2 separate regions of the Homo sapiens genome follow, and region 1 is linked to region 2. Evidence: promoter capture Hi-C in 16 types of primary human blood cells and fetal thymus (Javierre and others, 2016). All regions are on one chromosome and are shown on one strand. Each heading gives the region's core, a stretch centred on a gene start or on the middle of the fragment in contact. The rest is flanking DNA. Distances are from core to core; before and after follow the strand shown. Region 1 holds the start of SLC19A2 (solute carrier family 19 member 2). Region 2 holds the start of POGK (pogo transposable element derived with KRAB domain).

Evidence for each region. The method cuts DNA at HindIII sites, captures the fragments that hold promoters and counts their contacts. A CHiCAGO score of 5 or more calls a contact.
Region 1: the fragment with the promoter of SLC19A2 here is called in contact with the fragment with the promoter of POGK in region 2 in 1 of 17 cell types (non-activated CD4 T cells); the score reaches 9.5 in non-activated CD4 T cells.

Annotation. Positions count from the first base shown.
Region 1 is chr1:169,484,387-169,489,215 of GRCh38, forward strand. SLC19A2 (solute carrier family 19 member 2) reads right to left here and starts at 1,558. Exons shown (of 6, transcript NM_006996.3): 1 at 1,177-1,558. The coding sequence starts at 1,380. RefSeq lists enhancers at 963-1,022, 1,565-1,859, 1,663-1,912, 1,695-2,615, 1,923-1,992 and a silencer at 1,203-1,382. The HindIII fragment of the contact is 10,248 bases long and covers 1-4,829 here.
Region 2 is chr1:166,836,440-166,841,928 of GRCh38, forward strand. POGK (pogo transposable element derived with KRAB domain) reads left to right here and starts at 3,036. Exons shown (of 6, transcript NM_017542.5): 1 at 3,036-3,165; 2 at 4,516-4,649. The coding sequence starts at 4,518. RefSeq lists silencers at 2,792-3,221, 3,322-3,561. The HindIII fragment of the contact is 10,121 bases long and covers 1-5,489 here.

The DNA of each region.
Region 1 (4,829 bases), core at 308-2,807, 2.6 Mb after region 2:
ACCCACATAGAGAAGAGTAAGGTTTAAATGGGAGGAGTATTTTACAGCACCTGGGGCAAGGAGGCAGGGTGGAAGGAACAGGTGTAGGAAAAAAGAAAAAGCTCTCAAGTGGCCCCTTGACTGATAGTAGGAAAAAGAACATGAGACCTCAGCTTTCACCCTTTGTTGTATTCAAGGAAGAGGGTGTTGAATCGGCTTTATTTCGGTTTTGTGGAAGTACTTTGGGTTTAATTTCTTTCTCAGTTTATATATTGTCTTTCTTCTGCAAAAATCAAGTGCTGGTTTTGACCATGCACTTAAATAGGTCAGCACATTTCTAAAGTACACTATGCGCTTCTGAAGTACTTTATTTGTAAGCCCTCATCTAGGGAAAAAATCAATCAGCAAGAAACTCTTGATGATGGACTACGTGCTCTCAATTACCCTGAACATCACAGAAGGCCTTCAAAGACATCACCTTGTATCTGAGAAGCAAAACTAACATCTGTGAAGCAACAATTCGCAATACAAGAAACACTATAATTAAAAGTCAATTATGTTTCACCATCTGCCTTTATCCCTGGAGGTTGGTCTTAAGGTAGAGAGGGGCAGGATATCCTTGGACACAACCTCACCCAATTAAAAATCAAGACAAATTAAGATGTTCTGTACTTCTGTCCTGTCCTTACTTGATTAAGCCCACCCATTCTGCCAAATGCAAACAAAGTAAGGTATGGACAGGAAGCAGGTGAAGGAGGTAGAGGGAAGATCCTTTCAGAAAAGCAGTGGTTGCCTACTTTCAGTCAATGAATATTTACTAAGCCGTGTCCAAAGTACACTTTGCTGTTTTCACTTCTTTGTCAAAATATTGCCCCCTCGCCCCCAGCAGGAACTGCTGGACCAGTCTGGGCAGTCACGCTAAGCCACATTACAACACGATCAGCATACTGCCTGACGCACAAGGCACGGGGCCTCTGGACGCGTGTTCTGAGCCCTTCGCAGGAGACTCGTCCTACAGAGCCGAAGAAAACAGAAAATCATGAACACAAAGAAGAGCACGAAGCCGACCTCCAACTGGCAAAATCAGAAATCTCTGCCGAGAATGGCTCGAGCGCTTTTCTCGGTCCTCTCTTCCTCCGCTGCCCACCCGCAGGCCGGTCGCCCGCCCTTCCCGCGCCCCGCGTCCGCCGCGCGTACCTCCCTCTCGGTCAGGTTCTTGTCCGGCCCCAGCAGGTACGGGGTCAGGAAGGGCTCGGACGGCCTGAGGCTGGCGAAGAAGCCGTAGGCGCAGAGCAGCGCGGTCGGCAAGAACCAGCATTCGCGACGGACCCGAGCGGTCCGCAGGAGCACAGTGGCCGCCGCCGCCGCCGCCCGCCGAGACACCGGGCCGGGCACATCCATCCGGGGCGCGAGGGGAGGGGACCCGGCCCGGCCCCTTCCTTCTCCTCCTCCGCCAACTGGAGTGAGGGTCAGGCACTTGTAACCGCGAGTGACGCCTTCTCCCTGTAAGGCCAGGACGTTCTGGACTCGCCGCCGCCTCCGGCTACAGAACCCCCAGCTTTACCCTACAGACGCCTCTAGGGTCGCTGCCTGATCGCCCAGTTTAAGGGAGACCCGTCCTAAGGCCCACCCTCTGCCACCGCCTCCACTCCGGGAACCAATCACAGCGGACGCCGGGAATACTTGCCTGCTCTTCCATTGGTCGTGGGTCACACGACGTGAACTGGGGCGGTGGCAGCACGCCAGGCCTCTGACGTCCCAGGGCTCAAGCGCGGAGGACATGTGGAACTCCACTCCAAAAGCGGCGGCTTGCGGCGGAGCTCTCTCTAGTGAGGCGGCCAGCTGGCGTTCGTGGCACACTTGCTGTCGGCTCCGCTCATCTGTTGGGAATGCGTCCTGTGGGCCTAGTCCTCCGCTGGAAGAAACGCGCTGTTCTCCCCAACCACCGTTTATCATTCTTATTCACCGTCTCCGGAATGTCCATTCAGTTTCCGCTCCTGAGAGACTTAGTGACTGAGGCCAGGCAAAGATTTCACCTTGGGGAGGGGGAACGTTAAACCTTTCCTCCAGCAGCTTTCGTGTTTTAAATTGTATTCATCCGCCATGGAAAGACATCAGAAGCCCAGGATCTAAGAGACAGACTGAAATGAAGAAAGTAGATAATATTGTGAGAATAATGAACAAGCTGGTCACTGAACAGCAGAACCGTAATGGAGTCCCAGTTAAAGGGTTTTAACTTTATTTCGTCACTTTTTGCAAGCATGATACAAAGAAAACAAACACCTAACTACGCTACGGTTTATAGTTAAAAGGAAGGTGGAAGATCCTGAGTCATTACAGCAATCACAAAACATGATGGATTTCTTCATTTAAAAACACAAAAGAGGTCTTGGCATAGTTTTCAAGGGCAAAGCATGACAAGACTCTCCAGTGCTTTCTTTCATCCCCCTCTGTGTGCCTTTTTCTGCCTGACTCACAGCCTGGCTCAATCCTAATCTTTCTACTGCAAAGATGCAGCATTTAAAGCAATTTTTCCTGTGCAGTATTTGTAGAATGACAGATCCTGCCAGAAGCTCTTGGAAACATTTTGGAACTATCTTGCTTTTCTGTATGTTATGATCCATCTAGCACCGTTTTCCTCCTGTGGTAGCAAATGACACTTTTTTCAAGCATCAGCAGCAGAAATGAGTCTACCAGATGGAATAAGATACTGGTAAAGGGAAAGATTTGTTTCTAAGACTGCACAAATGAATGCACCCAAATCTGTGAGTTGATTAATCTGTGAAGAAATACAACTGGCAGTATTTACATATCTCAATGAGTCTCAAAGTGTGGTCGAGGAAGCCCTGGGGGTCCTTGGGACCCTTTCAGAGGTTCCACGAGCTCAAATCTATTTTCATAACCATGCTAAGTCTTTATTTCCTTTTCCACTCCAGAGGCTATATAATGTCTGATGACATCATCGCTTTATAGGATGAGAGAATACGTGCTTGTATATTCTTGTGTTTGTAAGACTTTCCAGGTTTAATTTATTACCATATGGCAATTTTCAATAAGTATAACCCACAAAACCCAACAGATTTTTGGGGCACCTCTAACAAGGGTCCTAAGACCAAAATGTTTGAGGACTGCTAATCGATATTATTCAATTGTCTAGTCCCCTAAACTCCAACCCTTCTTATCAGGACTACAGAGAGAAAACAGGTGGTCTTCTTGACAATCGCTTTGTATTTACATTCAGTGCTTTAGTAGAAGAGAAGAAAGAAAGAGAAAGCAAGCCAGAGAGGCCTCGGAAAGAGAAGCCTACTTATTAAAAATAGCTTTCTGGCTGGTCACGGTGGCTCACTCCTGTAATCCCAGCACTTTGGGAGGCCGAGACGGGCGGATCACTTGAGGTCAGGAGTCTCAGACCAGCCAGGCCAACATGGCGAAAACACGTCTCTACTAAAAATGCAAAAATTAGCCGGGCATAGTGGCATGCACGCCTGTAGTCCCAGCTACTTGGGAGGCAGAGGCAGGAGAGCCACTTGAACCCAGGAGGCGGAGGTTGCAGTGAGCGGAGAGCGAGACTCGCGAGTACTCGTCTCAAAAAACAAAACAACAATAACAAAAACAGCTTTCCATCCCTTCCCTGAGGCTTGGGTACCTGAACCACGTTAATCTGTAAATCACTGCTTCTGTAACTTTTCCTTGGTATAAATCACATAGGCAATGAGGTTGGGTATAAACAGTAATTGTCCTTGAATTGGGTAGATGTTTTCTTATTATTTTTGTCTAAGAGGTCATTGCGATAGGCAGAATTCTAAGAATGATCCCCAGTGACGCTTGCCCTTGTATAACCCCCACCCATTTGAGTGTGAGGTGAAACCTATGAATTTGATGAGGCAATACTCCTGTTATTATGTTACGTTTTATGACAGATGTGAGATTTTCCAGGTGGGCCCAATCTAATCACAACAGCCCTTTAAAAGCAGAGATTTTCCGTCTGCTAAGAGCAGAAGAGGAAGTCAGAGAGATTTGAAGGATGAGAAGAATTTGACGTGCTGCTGTTGGAGGGGGCTACATACCAAGAAATGTGGGCATCCTATAGCAACTGAAACTGGCTCCTGGCTGACAGCCAGCAGAGAATCAGGATATCAGTCCCAGAATCATAAGGAACTGAATTCTGCTAAAAACCTAAATGAGCTTGGAAGTGGGATTCTTCCGAGAAGAGCCCAGCCGGGTCACCATCTTAATTTTGGTCTGCGAAACCGTAAGCAGAGAATCCACTCAAGCCCACCTGGATCTACAGAACTGTGAGCTAAGCTGATGTGGTAATATTTTAAAGCCGCTAAATTTTTGTTCATTTGTTGTGCAGCAATAGGAATCTAACACAAAGGTAAATAGAATATATTTTTTAAATCGAGGCAATATTCACATAACATAAAATTAACCATTAATTAAGTGTACAACCCAGTGGCATTACTACATTCATAATATTGTGAAACCATCACTTCTGTCTAATTCCAAGACATTTTCACCACCCTACAGGAAACTGATACCCATTAAGCAGTCACTCCCTGTTCCCTCCTCCCCTTAGTCCCTGGCAAACACTAATATGCTTTCTGCCTATGGATTTGTCTATTCTGGAGGTTACATACAATTTGTGACCTTTTGTGTCTAGCTTCTTTCACTTAGTTTAATGTTTTAAAGATTCATCCACATTGTAGCATGTATCAGTACTTCGTTCCTTTTTATGGCTAAGTAATATGTGTATATACAACATTTTGTTTATCCATCAATTGATAACATTTGGATTATTTTTACTTTTGTCTATTGTGAATAGTGCTGCTATGAACATTTGTATGCAA
Region 2 (5,489 bases), core at 1,786-4,285:
GCTCCTTCCCCATTTGGTTCTCTCCTCCTTTCCTCCCCATCTAGGATTTCCTTGTCCACATACCTGAGGATATGTACCACAAAATGGTCAATTCTCCTTCTCCTGCTTCAGAGCAACTCCTTGAGGGCCAAGACTGGGAGCCCTAAGGCCAAGGTTGCCTCTTGTCATCATCTCAATAAGCTACACCCTTAAAATTGCTCTATAACAAGGCACCCCAGAACTCAGTAGCTTAAAACAACAATAATCTCTTCTAATGGTCACTGGTCTTCATATTAGCAAGGATAGCTCTGTAACACATGCCTCCTTCTGATGCCTAAGTTGGAGGGGCAGTGACTACTTAAGCATGCTTTTGTCATAGCAGAGATCAAAAGCTCCCAGAGGTGCAAAGAGAAACTTCTGAGGCCTCTTAGGACTCAGGACTCACACACAGTCACTTCCTCCCACATTCCATTGGCTGAAGCTCACCATAGAAGCAGGCCAAGTGAAGGTGCATTGAAGTACATTCTGCACATGACACTTCAGCAAAGGTGTGGCTTATAACACTACCACAGGGACACAAAGTACCAAGACTATTACTTCAGTCTACAGCGGTCCCCGAGGAACAGACGTATGTGGGCCCGTGGCTATATTGACCTGGCCATGGGGCCTCTGCTGAAGGAAATCAGAAATGTGTATTCACCAGGGAACACTACAGTTAGAAATGAGTATTTTGTAAAATTTGAGGCTCTTTGGAATTCCTATAGTTTGGGTACTATAATAATTCAATAGGAGGAAGGATGAAGTCAGACCAACAGCATCATTAAAGAACTATTATGTTGATTAAATGGATGTTCGGCTGATATTAGCCACCAACTAAGAGAAACTCATCCTATTGAATTACCAGAGTAATGCACTGTCTCAAAGACTGGCTTCAATCACTCCCCATTCAGACTCAGATAAAGTCTTATGGAGAATGGGAACAATAACAGAGCTGAGAGAATGTTAGGACAATATATGGTTCAACTCTCTTTTTGCAGATGAAACACCAGCAAAGAGAAGCACAATGACTTAGAAAACCACTTAAACATGAGTCTGTAGTGTATTGTGCCTAGGCCAGCACGTTGCTCCTAGAGTAAGTCTTGTTAGCAATTACAGACCCGTAAAAAGGTGGATCCTCTAAGATCCTCTAACAGTAATTGAGATCATGGGGCTGTGGGCTCAAAGTCAAGAATTCGGGTGGGTCACTCTTAATTTCTTCCCAGGGACACCTAATCCAAGCCCATGAGAACATTAGGGCTCTCAGAGACTAAAACTCTAACATAGTAGGGTTTTTCGTGTGTGTGTGTCTGTGTGTGTGTGTGTGTGTGTGTCTATCTCAAAACTGTATTAATTTCTTTTCTAAGATGCTGGGGTGCCAGCAACATCCCTATTACTCTTCTCCCTTCCTAATGTCCTCCTCACTTTCTGTTTGAATCTGCCATTTCCTCAGAAAAATTAAGAGGGCAATGTCAATCAATTCAAACTAACATGTCACTCCTGTTCTACAAATACTTACTTTTACACAAAAATAATTGTTCATTAAAACAAAAAAGTAAATTCTAGCCTCCCTCCCAATATTTGAACGATCTTTTCCACCCACAGATTAGATCTTCTACGGTCTTGGGTTGTCACCGTGATTGCACTTCCAAGATGTGTACGTTATGTCATGCTACATTTTACGTGTTAAGAGCACAGTGCACAGTGACCTCTCCCATGACTGAGAGAAGTAAAATTCACATGTAAGTAGTAGTGGCCACAAAAACTTGGAAAGACAGGTCTTTTCCAACAGATATTCAGGTCTCAGAGACAATCTGAAGAGTTTGACGGACTCTTTCCTTGACCAAAGTTTAATCAGGCTTAAGTCCTCTTCTTCAGCAGGCCTCCACCCTGGTCCCCTGACCACTCACCCCGAACCTTTGGCCTGCCCAGCTCTATTTTAGCAAGAACCCTGCTAAGTTAGGTTAGAGAGAAATCACCACCCTTGATATCTGATCACCCTGGATATCTGATCAAATTTCTCATTCCCCCACCCTTGATATCTGATCGCCCTAGCCTGCCTTCAGCAAGAATCCTGTTAAGTGGGTTCAGCAAGAATCCCTCTAGGTGCTTGATGTCTCGTATCAGTAACTTTCCATCTACTGACCCCTTCGTTCTGCTCCTTGGCTATACATCCCCAGCTGTCCTTACTGTATTCCGTGTTAGACCTCATCTCTCCCCCCAGTGTGATCATCTTTACACCTATAGCAATAACCCTGTATAAAGTCTTCCTTACTGTTTTAACAAGTGTCAGAATAATTTTTTCTTCAACAAGTTCTCAACAAAAACCCATACCCAGAATCTTTTTCTGGAATGAAAAGGGCTTCAGGGCTTCTCAGGTCACTTTTGTTGTATTGCCCACAGAGCTGAGAGTAAACAACTCCTTTGGACGTTTTGGAGAAGAAAGGTCCTTCTATACACCCACTTCATCCAAGGAATTACATGCTTGGGATATTAAGCAACAGCTACAAAAATCAGGAAGTTCCTTCTCCATGTATATGACGAAGTTCTGGACAGGAGCCCGCTGCCAGAATACGAATACTCTTCCCCAAAGACCCCTCCTCATGCCCCTACACGCTCTTGCCGGTCTAGCCTTTCATTGCCTGAAGCACGGCGAGAACGCCTGGAGAGCTCGTCCAAGCAAGTGCAACCCGCTGGTGACTGCAAATGAGCACATGGAACTGTGCGCCCACGCTACGCTCGGTTAAAATCAATCTGGGCTCTTCCTGCCTCGTCCACGCCGAGGTCACACGCAGCACTGGAAGCGGCCTGCATCGGGCGGGGCGGGGAAGGCCGAGGGCACGGCTACCCAGGCCCGCCAGGGACTGCCCGGACCGGCCGGAAGCCGCGCCTAGAGGAGGGCCCCGGAGCTCGCGCGGGCGCCGTCCCCCGGCGCCGCCGAGGCCTGCTGACATCAGCCGCGCTCCTCCCCTCGCCTCCCAACACCCTCAGCTCCGGGCCGGACCCTCCCTCCTCCCACCACGTGTCCTCCCCGCTCCCTCCCGAGGGGCCGCGCGCACGGGAGGACGGAGAGGCGGAAAGGATGGCGCTGTGACAGCCGGGCCGGAGCCCTCGCGTCCCCACCCCGCGCCCTGGCCGCTGGGCCCGGCGGTGAGTGCGCGCGGGCGGGGGCGGCGGCGGCGCGGCCCCTCCCCCGGGTCCCGGGCGGCTGGGCCGCGGCAGAGGCGGGGGCGCCGAGGCTGCGCCGCCGCCGCCGCCGCCTTTGTTGCGGGCCCGCCGGGGAGGCGGGCGGCGCCGGCTCTCGCCGCCCGGCAGGTGCGCTGGGGCCGGGAGGGGGCCAGGTGGGGAGGCGGGCCGGGCGGAGGGGGCAGCGGAAGCGCTCCCGGCGCGGTTCCGCGGAGAAAGGGAAATGGGGCAAGATGGCTGGAGAAATCCGAACGCGCCCGGGGGCGCGGCGGCGGTGGCGCAGGCGGGGCAGGGCGGGCGGCGGCCCTGGTTGCGGCACCTTAGCGCGGGGAGGCGGCCCCTCCCACCTCTGCCCCGGAGCCGGCAGGGAGACCGCCGCCAAGTTCGGGCCCCAGCTGCAGGCATCTGAAGCCTAGACCCATCCATGCCGCGTTCGCCTATCTTTTTTGGAAATATCGAAGGAACCGACTTTGAACTCCAGAGGGATCTTTTCTTTGGAGGTTCCCCGATGCAGCCCTCAAGATGCATCCGCACTCCACACCTAGGAATTGCCCGCGCCCATAGAGGGCAGGAGTGCGGCCCTTTGTACTGGCCAAGAGTCAGCGAATAGAGAATTTGCAGCCCAGAGGCAATGGGTTATTTCCCTGTCGGGGTGGGCCCCAGCCGATTTCTGCACCTTTTTGGGTATCCAGGCATAACCCTCACTATGTTTCACTGACTCCTGCGTTTGCAAAGTCCCTTAAGGTAGAATGACCCTATTTTCTGAACCAGCTCGTGGACAGAACCTTTGAATTTGGAAAATCCAGGCAATGGGCCTACTGAGCCAACCGCTCCGCCCATGCTTAACTGGCTTCTAGCACCCATTCCAGTTGAGTAAGTGTCCAATCTGTGTTCAGACACCTTCACTGATAGGAAATCAGCACCTTTCCCCTGCCTCTGATTCCTGTTTGGGTGGCACTGGCTGTGAGAAAGTACTGCCTTTCTCACTGCTTAAAACCTTTTCCAGGAGTATTTATCCACTGGCCGGCCTCTGTTCTGCCGTCCAGTCTCTACAAACCAGTCTGGGTTCTCTTCCCCAGATAGCTTTTTAAATATTTGAAGGCAGCCAGATACGTTATCTACCCACAGCCTCTCTTATCATAATTAAACATGTCACCCTGTAGCTTCCTGGCCGACTCTTGTTTCCTTACTTCCCTCCAGCGGGAACAGTGCTTGGGGCTAAAGAGGTTTGTATGTGGCTCAGCCTCCCCCATCATAGGCTTTGGGGAGGTCACAGTGACACCTGGTTTTTCTGAACCTGAATCTTGCTTGCAGAGATGGAGTCCACAGCCTACCCTCTCAATTTGAGCCTGAAAGAAGAGGAAGAGGAAGAAGAGATTCAGAGCCGGGAACTAGAGGACGGCCCGGCAGACATGCAGAAAGTACGAATCTGCTCTGAGGGCGGATGGGTAAGTAAGAAGGTGTGGAGTCCACACAGCCAGCAGATGCAGGCCTGAGAGCCCAGCTTGCTTTAAGTCTCCTCCTCAGACAGACGTGGGAAGTAAAAATAGCCCAGCCCGGTGTGTTTGCATTCCTGAGAAAACAGCTCTGTGGCTTTAAAAGGCAGTGCAAAGAATGGAGGAGGTGTTATGGAAACAGTCCCTCAGCCATGTAGCTTGTCATCGTTCAATTGGAAGTCCTAGAAGCCAGGACCTTGTCTCTCTCGTTCACCCACTTATCCTGCACTGCGTTTGATGCCAGGCACATTGTAGGCACCAAGTAAATGTTTGTTGACTTACTGCTGGTTGAAGGGAACCATTTTAAATAAGACTCGAGTCATTGGGTTGACATGAGAGGTTAGGCTAGTTGGTTCTGTGTGAGCACCTCTTACCACAGTTGACACAGGAGAGCTGCCTGTCCAGCTGACCTGGATAGAAATGGTGGGCAGCAGGGAATACAGAGATTCAGGGTATACACGCAGAATAGTATGATAGAGGTCGGTTTATACAAATGCAAATGCAGTAGATACTTATAGTTACAGATAGTTATTCACCGTAGTTACTGGACTTCGTGGTAATTAGGCATGAATAGTAAACATTTTAAATAAGCAACAAATTGACATTCCTTTTCTCTGCTTATTTTCCGTTGTGTATAAACATTGTCAGTATACATAGTATCCTTTGCTTCCATGAAGAGCCCCTATCCATACAAGCATGGTACTTCTAAATTGTTCCCTACCAGAGGAGAGAACTGGGATGCAGAAAGATTATCTGCCTTGCCCTAAGGTTACACATGAACACTGACATTTG